4 separate regions of the Homo sapiens genome follow, and regions 1, 2 and 3 are each linked to region 4. Evidence: promoter capture Hi-C in 16 types of primary human blood cells and fetal thymus (Javierre and others, 2016). All regions are on one chromosome and are shown on one strand. The core of a region is centred on a gene start or on the middle of the fragment in contact, and the rest is flanking DNA. Distances in the headings are between cores, read along the strand shown.

The links. The method cuts DNA at HindIII sites, captures the fragments that hold promoters and counts their contacts. A CHiCAGO score of 5 or more calls a contact.
Region 1: a contact is called between a fragment that was not itself captured here and the fragment with the promoter of PF4V1 in region 4, in 1 of 17 cell types (neutrophils). The highest score is 5.7, in neutrophils.
Region 2: a contact is called between a fragment that was not itself captured here and the fragment with the promoter of PF4V1 in region 4, in 1 of 17 cell types (fetal thymus). The highest score is 5.8, in fetal thymus.
Region 3: a fragment that was not itself captured here is called in contact with the fragment with the promoter of PF4V1 in region 4 in 1 of 17 cell types (neutrophils); the score reaches 8.5 in neutrophils.

Annotation. Positions count from the first base shown.
Region 1 is chr4:73,094,916-73,097,631 of GRCh38, reverse strand. ANKRD17 (ankyrin repeat domain 17) reads left to right here. Exons shown (of 34, transcript NM_032217.5): 27 at 360-515. Among named protein-coding and RNA genes, the nearest start is that of COX18, 27 kb to the right of the region's middle. The HindIII fragment of the contact is 3,504 bases long and covers 1-2,716 here.
Region 2 is chr4:73,336,665-73,339,475 of GRCh38, reverse strand. All of the region lies in intron 3 of ANKRD17-DT (ANKRD17 divergent transcript), which reads right to left. Among named protein-coding and RNA genes, the nearest start is that of ALB, 66 kb to the left of the region's middle. RefSeq lists an enhancer at 1-390. The HindIII fragment of the contact is 6,759 bases long and covers 1-2,811 here.
Region 3 is chr4:73,116,596-73,119,295 of GRCh38, reverse strand. It overlaps ANKRD17 (ankyrin repeat domain 17), which reads left to right. Exons shown (of 34, transcript NM_032217.5): 22 at 446-608. Among named protein-coding and RNA genes, the nearest start is that of COX18, 48 kb to the right of the region's middle. The HindIII fragment of the contact is 7,075 bases long and covers 1-2,700 here.
Region 4 is chr4:73,851,897-73,854,596 of GRCh38, reverse strand. PF4V1 (platelet factor 4 variant 1) reads right to left here and starts at 1,301. Exons shown (of 3, transcript NM_002620.4): 1 at 1,135-1,301; 2 at 688-814; 3 at 114-562. The coding sequence starts at 1,234. The coding sequence ends at 475. The HindIII fragment of the contact is 5,836 bases long and covers 1-2,700 here.

The DNA of each region.
Region 1 (2,716 bases), core at 217-2,716, 760 kb after region 4:
CCCTGTCTCTACAAATAATTTTTTTTTTTAATTAGCCAATGTGATGGCATGCACCTGTGGTCCCAGCTACTCAGGAGGCTGAGGCAGAAGGATCACCTGAACCCGAGAGCTCAAGGCTGCAGTGAGCTGTGATTGCACTGTTGCGCTCCAGCCTGGGTAACAGAGCAAGACCTGTCTCAAAAAGAAAAAAAAAAAAAGGCTCTCTATATTATATGCTAAATATGAGGAGAAGTGAAAAATAAGGTCGTCATTTGTTATTTAAAAATAAATTTTTAAAAATTGGGTAGTAGACTACCTTTATCATTTAAAAATTCTACATCTGTTCCATATTTAATGTACTTTCCCTCTCTTTGTTAAAGATTGTCAGAAACTATCAGTGAAGGGACCAGTAATTCTCTATCTACTTGTACAAAATCTGGTCCATCTCCCCTTTCTTCTCCAAATGGGAAGTTAACAGTAGCAAGTCCTAAGCGTGGGCAAAAGAGGGAAGAAGGATGGAAAGAAGTTGTAAGAAGGTGAGTAATTGTTTTTGTCATTCTTTTTATGTGCTATATATCACAGTCAAGTGTTATCTACCTTATAATTAAATTCCTCCTACTCTTCTAAAGGTTGCAAACAAACTGATGGTTCAAGGCTAAATTTGACCAACAGAGAGAGCCTGTGCCATATTTTAGATGAAAAAAATTACGTGTTAATTTGGCCCCTCAAAAGTATTGGAGTTTGCTTTGAGAACTATTTTAGATTGTGTCTTTCTCAGCTTCGTTATCTCAAAGCCTTATATAATACAAAGAAGTATTATAAAAGCTACTTGTAAACATTTGATGAATTAGTAGGTATTGATGTTAAACTGTTGATCTAATCATAGTAACTGTTGTCTTTAAATCATAAGATAACTTTATTTTAAGGGTTTCAGGATAAAAATATTTTGTTTTGCATGGGATTTTAAAAATAATATGTATCCAAGAGTAAAAATACAATATCTCAGAAACGTAAAAGGAGGTAAGACACCTGAAATCCAGAAAGAATGTGATCCATTGTCACTCTTTGATAACTTATTTTAAAGAACTTTCCGGAAATTTCGTAAAAATTTAAACTTTTGGTTATCTGAAACAAAAGCTATAGTGAACCAAACTTAGTAACTACTGTTAATCCCTAAGTGCAGTATACAGGTTTTTGGCTTATTTCCTCCGTATTTTAGACCAAATCTTGTCCCCGTCATACCTATGTTTATTTCTGTCTCTATTTTCACACACTATACACACATTCTTTCTTTCACTCCTTCACATACACACTCTATTGGATTAATTGAAATCACATCATCAGAATATTCTCTATACACTAATAAGATAATTTGGTTTTTGTATATGCATTTAATACTGTGTTATACAGTTTGGAAATGATGATCACTGGCTGATTATCATGCTCTTTAGGTTAAAAAGAGTTGTTAGGTAACTTAGTTGTATATATAGAGAACAGGGATCATGCCCTTCCTTTTAGAAAATATGACAATTTTTAATACTTAACCATTCTCAATAAATAATTTGCTTGTTTATTGAACTATACTTGACTGCTTCTCTTTATTGAGAACTTTATACTGTATTTCTTTTAGAAATATTGTTTAATCAGCTTATCAGGAATTCGGGCCTGACACCTGTGGCTCATGTCTATAATCCCAGCATTTTGGGAGGCCAAGACAAGAGGATCACTTGAGACTATGAGTTCAAGACCAGCCTGGGCAACATAGCAAGACCCCATCTCTGCTAAAAACAAAATTAAAAAATTAGCTGGGCATGTGGTTTGTGCTTGTAATCTCAGCTACTTGGGAAAGGTGGGAGGATTGCTTATGCCCAGGAGTTTGAGGCTGCAGTGAGCTATGATCACACCACTGCATTCCAGCCTGGGTACAGAACGAGACTCTGTCAAAAAAAAAATAATAATAAAGGAAATCTATAATCTATATCTGAATGTTTAAAATTAAAATGTAATTTTGCAAGTATTAGATGGATATTGCTTTTTTTTTTTTTTTTTTGAGATGGAGTTTTACTCTTGTTGCCCAGGCTAGAATGCAATGGCGTGATCTCGGCTTGCTGCAACCTCTGCCTCCCAGGTTGAAGTGATTCTCCTGCCTCTGCCTCCCGAGTAGCTGGGATTACAGGTGCATGCCACCATGCCCGGGTAATTTTTTGTATTTTTAGTAGAGATGAGATTTCACCATGTTGGCCAGGCTGGTCTTGAACTCCTGACCTCAGGTGGACCACCCACCTTGGCTTCCCAAAGTGCTGGGATTACAGGCGTGAGCCACCGTGCCCGGCCTCAGATTTTGCTTTTTAAATTCTAGTAGGATTTTCTTTTTCCGGACATTATTAAAGATTTTTAGAAAGTTTTCATATTTGTGGATGGTCATTTTAATGCTACTATAAGAATACAGGGAAGTAATGAATATTTTTTCTTTTTTCCTGAGAAGGAGTTTCACTCTGTCACCCAGGCTGGAGTGCAGTGGTGCAATCTCAGTCCACAGCAACCTCCATCTCCCGGATTCAAGTGATTCTCCTGCCTCAGCCTCCTGAGTAGCTGGGATTACAGGTGCACACCACCATGCCTGGCTAATTTTTGTATTTTTTTCAGTAGAGACAGGATTTCACTATGTTGGCCAGGCTGGTCTCGAACTCCTGACATAAAGTGATCTGCCTGCCTTGGCCTCCCAAAGTGCTGGGAT
Region 2 (2,811 bases), core at 131-2,630, 520 kb after region 4:
GTATGGGAATGCCTGAATGGCCAGGCAGAAGTTTGCTGCAGGGACAGGGCTCTCATGGAGAACCTCTGCTAGGACAGTGCAGAAGGGAAATGTGGGGTTGGCTCTCTGCGTGGGGTTGGGCCCTCTTGCATCAGTGTGACCTGGATGTGAGACCTGGAGTCAAAGGAGATTATTTTGGAGCTTTAAAATTTGACTGCCCCACTGGATTTTGGACTTGCATGGGCCCTGTAACTGTTTTGTTTTGGCCAATTTCTCCCATTTGGAACAACTGTATTTACCCAATACCTGTACCCCCATTGTATCTAGGAAGTAACTAGCTTGCTTTTGATTTTACAGGCTCATAGGCAGAAGGGACTTGTCTTGTCTCAGATGAGACTTTTTACTGTGGACTTCTGGGTTAATGCTAAAATGAGTTAAGACTTTGGGGGACTGTTGGGAAGGCGTGATTAGTTTTGAAATGTGAGGACATGAGATTTGGAGGGGCCAGGGGTGGAATGATATGGTTTGGCTCTGTGTCCCCACCCAAATCTCATCTTGAATTGTAATCCCATAATTCCCACATGCGGTGAGAGGGACCCAGTGGAAGATAATTTGAATCATGGGGGCAGTTTCTCCCATACTGTTCTTGTGGTAGGTTAATAAGTCTCATGAGATCTGATGGTTTTATCAGGATTTCCCCTTTTACATCTTTGTCATTTTTCTCTTGCCGCCACCATGTAAGAAGTGCCTTTTATCCCTCGCCATGATTCTGAGGCCTCCCCAGCCATGTGGAACTGTAAGTTCCTAATTAAACCTCTTTTTCTTCCCAGTCTCAGGTATGTCTTTATCAGCAGCATGAAAATGGACTAATACAATAGCCCAATTTAAAAATGGGCAAAGGAAGTGAATAGATAGTTCTCCAAAAAGGATATACAAATGGTCAATAAGCACTTGAAAAGATGATCAACATTATTAGCCACCAGGGAAATGAAAATCAAAACCACCAGATGTCATTTCACACCCAATAAGATGACTACCTGAAAAAAGATAGACAATAACAAATGTTAGCAAGAATGTGGAGATATTCAAATTCTCATATATTGCTCATGGGACTGTAAAATGGTGGTAGCCACTTTGGAAAATAGTCTGACAGTTTCTCAAAGGGTTAAACAGAGTTACCACATGATCCAGCAATTCCACTCCTAGGTATATACCCAAGAAAAATAAAAACGTATCTACACAAAAACGCACACACAAATGTTCATAGCAGCAGTATTCATAATAGCATAAAAGAGAAACCACCCAAATGTCCATCAATTGATGAACGGATAAACAAAATGTAGTATATTTATACAATGAAATATTGTTTAATAATAAAAAGAAATGAAGTAATGATACATGCCACTACATGCATAAACCTTGAAAACACGTTAAGTGAAAAACCTATCACAAAGGACCACATATTCCATGATTTCATTTATATGAATTTTCAAGAGTGGGAAAATTACAGAAAGTAGATTGGCAGTTGCCTGATGCTGGAGAGGAAAAGGAGATTGTAGGGTGATGGCTAGGGAATGTGGGTTTTTTGGAGGGGGTAATGACAATGTACTAAAATTGTGTTGATGGATGCATAACTCTGTGAATATACTAAAAACCCTTGAATTGTACACTTTAAGTGGGTGAATCATATGGCATGTGAATTATATCTTTAAAAACCATAATAAATTTACTTGTGATGGTCATTCAGGAATATTTTACTTTGCACACAGAAGCACAGGGGCATGTGATGATGCCGAGACAAAATCTTAGGTCAGACATAAATATGAAAACTGCAAGTCTCTAAAGCCTCATGTAGCTGCTCCTCAGAAACATATTTAAGACATAATTGGTTTCAAAAACAAGAAAGTTAGTGAACAAACAAAAGAAAAGCATATAAAGTAGTAAAACTGCTGCAAAGATTACCTTGATGATATTAAAGACATAAGTTCATGGGAATAAGTCACTGCCATAGGCAAAGAGAACTTACTTTCAGGTTCTCTTTGCTACAGTGAGCAGAGAGAAAAATGAATCAATGTTCTTGTGCCATAAATGAAGTATGGATAAACTTAGACACTTTTTAGCTTCTTTAACCAGGCTTAAAATGACAAAAAGCAATATATAGTCAAAACATTACTTCTGGAGAAGCCCTACTCTTGAATTTATCTTTGGAAATTAAGAATTGCCAAGGAATATTGCCATTTGGGGGTAGGCATGCAATATTGTAATAATTAATTTCTTTTGAAAAATATCCATTTTTACTTAGAAGAACCATTCAGTAATTCAAGGCAGAAATTTCTTTTTAATATTTAATTTTAATTTTTGTGGGTACATAGTAAGTGTATACAATTATGGGGTACATGAGATGTTTTAATGCAGGCATGCAATGTTTAATAATCACATCATGTAAAATGGGGTATCCATCCCCTCAAGAATTTATCCTTTGTGTTATAAACAATCCAATTATATTCTTTTTATTATTTTTAATGTACTATCGAGTTATTATTGACTATAAAAAGTGACCCTATTGTGCTATCGATTACTAGGTCTAACTCTTTCTATTTTTTCTGTACCCATTAACCATTGTCCCCAGCCCCCCACTACTTTTCCCAGCCTCTGGTAACCATCCTTCTACTCTCTATGTCCGTGAATTCAATTGTTTTGATTCTTAGATCCCACAAATAAATCAGAACATGTGAAGTTTGTCTTTTCTGTGCCTGGCTTATTTCACTTGGCATAATGACCTCCAGTTCCATCCATGTTGTGGCAAATGACAGGATCCCATTCTTTTTATGA
Region 3 (2,700 bases), core at 201-2,700, 740 kb after region 4:
TATTTACATCTTTGAATATTGAAAACAATTTTTATCTTTACAGAATATTTTCACATGTTGATAGTTGATTTTTGTTACTGTGTCATTTCATTCTATTTAAGACAATGCTAGGCTAGGTGTGGTGACAATGCCTATAATTCCAGCACTTTGAGAGGTTGAGGCAGGAGGATTACTTGAGCCCAGGAGTTCGAGACCAGCCTGGGTAACATAGGAAGACTCCATCTCCACAAGAAATTTAAAAATTAGCTGAGCGTGGTGGCATGGGACTGTAGTCCCAGCTACTCTGGAGGCTGAGGTAGGAGAATCATATGACCCCTGGAGGTGGAGGCTGCAGTGAGCCATGATCTCACCACTGCACTCCAGCCTGTGTGACAGAGCAAGACCCTGTATCAAAAAAAAAAAAAAAAAAAAAAAAGACAATGCTATCTGTGTCATTGGTTTTTAGGGGAGCTCATATTGATGTACGTAACAAGAAGGGGAACACTCCATTGTGGCTAGCAGCAAATGGTGGACACCTCGATGTGGTTCAGTTACTGGTGCAAGCAGGTGCAGATGTGGATGCAGCAGATAACCGCAAGATAACTCCTCTTATGGCAGCATTTAGAAAGGTATAAGTCTTTCATCCTCATTTACCTGGATGTTTTTTTACTTACACTAGGAAGTACATGGCTTAGTGATCACTAAAGACTCATTTTGTGCTTTTGCAGCTGTGATGAAAGCAATAATATGCAAATAATTACTCTTATGGCAACATTAAATGTAGATATATACAGGTTTTTCAGAAAAGCCATTAATTTTAACCTTATTGGACATCAGAGCTAAGTAAACTTTTAAAAAGCTGTTCTAAGTAATGTGTTCAAAATCTAGTTGCAGTCTTAATCTTCACAAAGTGTAAATCCAGTTAAGATACTTAAGTAAGTACCTCCAGTTAGTTACTCTTAGTGAGTGTTTTCTTGTATTACCACTACAGAGAAAAATATCACTTAAACTGGTTATTTTGCTGGGGGCGGGGGTTGTGCCACGCATGGTGGCTCATGCCTGTAATCTCAGCACTTTGGGAGGCCAAGGCAGGCAGATGTAGCGAAGCCCTGCCTCTACAAAAATTATAAAAATTAGCCGAGCGTGGTGACATGTGCTAATAGTCCCAGCTACTCAGGAGGCTGAGATAGGAGGATGGCTTGAGCCTGAGAGGCAAAGGTTGCAGTGAGCTGAGATTGCACCACCGCACTCCAGCCCGGGTGACAAGAGTACGACCCCGTCTCAAAAAAAATTTGTTTTCATTTCAATTATTGACTTTACTAGGAAAAAAAATGAATTAAATAATGAAAATGCCACTACCAGCATTTTAAACTACTAAGTTTCAAGTATATTACATTTAAAGGTAAAAATACAAATTCCGTGAAAGTAAAACAAACTTTCTCTTTCTGTACATAGCACAGAGCTGTGTGTAAGTAATTTGATTTAATGGTTTGTTTGATAATCCATTGATCTCTTAAATCCAGCTTTAGTTTGTTATTGGGAATATCAGATTACTGTTACAGGGATTATAATTTTGAGTTTTGTCATTTGGAGATATGTAGATAAAATTCCCTGTAGATGCCAAAATGTTGAAAATTTTTAATAAATAAATCACAATAAGCTATTTCTTCCTTTTTCTCTTATTATCTCTGACCGCTGTTCTTTATTCTACCTCTTCCCTAGATAATCTGGACTACCAGTGACTCTGTATTTTTGACTCTCTATATTTTTGTTTCTCAGCAATCCAACTTATTCCTTCTCACTGGCTAGCTGCCTCTTCTCCAAGCAAGCTAGCATATCATTATCAAGTTAATCTTTCTAACCACTCTACTATATTAGAGAACCTCTTCAAGAACCTTTCTGTGTCTCCCCAGTTTCTGAAATCATTTGAAATCCAATCTTAGTTTGGTATTCACAGCCACCACAATTTAGTGCTTGTAGATCTTATCTCCCATTAGAATCCTTAATGTGGAGAATTATCTTCTTGCTTGGTCTTTTCCTTGTTCCTATCTCTCACATCACCTTTGTTCTCATCTCATAGAATGCCCATGTCTTTCTTCATTTTTCCAAAGTTACTCATTCTTTAGTTATAGTTGAAGTCTCTCCTACCAAACTCTTCATCCTATTTGAGTTCACATCGAGATCTCTAATCTCTAGAGGTCGTACAAGTTTGACAGTGTTTATCATTCATTTGGAGAAATACATATTTTTATATGTTATTACTCTAACTATTAGAGTTGTTATTTTTATTAGTTATTACTCTAGTATCTAACATGCATATATCTTTCCAGATAGACTTATTGACTTCAGTTGAGCAGTGCTTATCTTTTATACTCTTATGTATTTGTTCCATTATTTCTTGAGTACCTAACATGTGCAACTGTGGGCTAGAGTACTATATTATATAGGGTGCAACATAGTATATGTTGTGTATATATGTCTATATACATTGTCTATATATGTATATACATATTGTCTATATATGTATATATAACATATACTATGTTATATAGGGTACAATATGGAAAGGTAAGATCCATACCCAAAGTTAGGTAACTGTTTGAGTTGTCCCATGTAAATAGTTTAAACACTGTAGAAGTATTAGAGAGATCCTTAGGGAATGATGCAAGTGGCATTTGAGCTATTCATTTAGAGAAAAGTTTAGAAACATGCAGTCTAAAA
Region 4 (2,700 bases), core at 52-2,551:
CTCACACTTCTCTTAGTTCCCAGAATCTTAATATCACCAATGTTAAGGAATTTGTGGGGATAAAAGCAGAGTGTTGCTTATTTACTTCATTGAAAAAAAAAAAAGCTGTCGAGTAATGCTTAAGAGCTACTAATATTTATTGGCAAGCTAATTGTAACATTCAAGGTAAATATGTAGCTATAAAGTACTGCAATCACATAAATGAACAAATATGTATCAGCTAACATATAACACTGAACAAAATCAGTCTTTATTAAACCAAGCCTTCCTTCATAATGCTTTTTGCTTAAAATTCTGGAAATTTTAAAATATGAAATTGTGATGTGTCAGCATTATTTTTGCAGTATTATTAAGAAATAGATTGACTATACCACAACTTGATTTATTTCGTTAATATAATATAAGAAGGATAATACAAACATCAGAAGATTCTTTCACAGTTAGATTGAAAGTGCACACTTAGGCAGCTAGTAGCTAACTCTCCAAATGTTCCTTAATGATTTTCTTGTACAGCAGGGCTTGCAGATCCAAGCAAATTTTCCTCCCATTCTTCAGCGTGGCTCTGGCAGGGAAAAGAGAAGAGACGTGACTTTCAGTCCTTGGGTTTGCAAATGGCATTAGAAGGGGGAGGGATGGGCAGAGGAGGCACGGAGCGGGAGCACTAACTGATGCAGTGCGAGGACTCACATGAGTTGGGCAGTGGGGCAGTGGGGTCCGGCCTTGATCACCTCCAGGCTGGTGATGTGCCTGGGACGGACCTGGGAGGTGGTCTTCACACACAGGCACTGCAGGTCCCCATCTTCTTCAGCTTCAGCTGAGGGGGAAAGGGAGGGAGTAAGAGAGGAGGAGGGGTGGGAGTTGTGACTCCCTGAGTAGCCAGAGATACTTTAGGGACCTTTTCCACTACCTTCAGCTTTCTTTTCCTTAGCCGTAAATCAGACCTCTCTCAGACAGAGGTTGTGCTGATCAGGTGGCGAGGTGCACGTGCAGTGCCTGGCACTGTACCCGCAGACTCAGCACGCGCGCAATAAGAGCAGCTGCGATCATGATCCTAGAGGATTCCTCCCCAGCCCCAGGGCTTCCCGGACTCCCCCTCGCCGCTGCTGGCCCTCCCAGCCTGGTTTCTGCTCTCACCTCTGGCGAAGGCGACCACAACTGGCAGGAGCAGCAACGCCAAGAACAGCATCTCCTGGCGGGTGGCGCGGGTGAGGCGGGACCTGGCTGCGGAGCTCATGTTGCAGCTGAGGTTCCAGCAGGATCCCAGTGCGCAGGGAAAGTCGGGCTGGGGTTCTGCAGGCAGTGACTCCTGGCCTCACCAGGCTTCTTTTATCCCCCGTCACTGTCCCACTGTCCTTCCAGTCCGGAAGCCTGGGGTGGACAGCGAGGAACTGTGGTGCAGGAGCTAAGACACTGCTATGAAGACTCAGACTCTGGCCAGCCAAGATTACAAAACAAAAGGCTGGGGGCAGCTGCCTTGGCTAGGAGGTGGTACAAAGATGCATACCTCCAACCTCAGTTTATATACACTTACATTTGTGGAGTTAGAAACACTACTTGCATCTTAGAAGAGAAATATTTTCTGTGTTGTATCATAGTAGAGTTCTCTGTAGTCACCAAGCAACTTACACAGCAGGTGGCTTCAGGACCCAGACAGTTCTTGTTTCCTTCTCAACTCAAGAACTGCCCATATGCTCCTAACTTCAGTCTTGATTACCATTGAGTTTGATGGCTGTGTGTTTGAAGAGTGTGCTATTTGCAATTGTTTTCTAATACTAATAAGTTTAATTTGGTCTCTAGGTGATGACTCTTCTGAATTTCACCTGAATGTGGAAAACTTCCCTAGTCTCTGGATGAGATTTACCAGGCTCCACCAACAATCACCCAGTATACTGTAGGATGCAAGATCTATTTCCCGTTACTCTTAGAAAAATTGCAGAAGTAATATTTGAATGCATTATTTTTATAAAAACTTAGCTCCTGGATGTTTCTTCATTGTTTCAATCCTGAATAATAGTCCAGAAGAGAGGACAAGGAGAGTTTGCCAGGCCATGTCTTCCAGAGCCTGCTGTGTCCTCAGTCACTGCCAGTGACAGGGTGAGATGGGCTGCACTGTTGGCAGGGAGCAGTGATGCTCTCTGTGGGAGGATTCAGGGCATCTGGGAGTTGGGTGTGAGAATGATGGGAGGTGACAGTGAAGGGGATGCAACAGAATCCCACACGGGAAAGGGGAAGAGATCCATATCGACCGTTTTCTCTTCTCTAAAAAAGAATGACTTTGGCTCTTGATCAGGGCAAGGTACACCCTCAACCCAAAGCCCAAGGTTCCCTGTCACTCTGACTAACAGTGGTGAAGGGTGTCAGGGACCCACTGGATGGAACTAGCTGATATTCTAATGCTCAGCAAACCTGCATTTTTGTAGGAATATGCAATTCTTTCTCCTACTCTCCCTACACCTGCCTATTCAGCTGGCTAAGACCTATTCATATTTCTGGTGTCAGCTTAAATATCACTTCCTCAGGTGTGCCTTCCCTGACAGCTATATATAATTGTGTTCCCTTGTTGTTCTATCTTGCAGAACTCTGTTCTTCGTATTTCTCACAGAATACACAAACATACACACACATATATTGTAGATATATATATATATATGTGTGTGTATGTGTATCTGTGTATTTAAAAGTGTTTAAAATTGTTTTGTT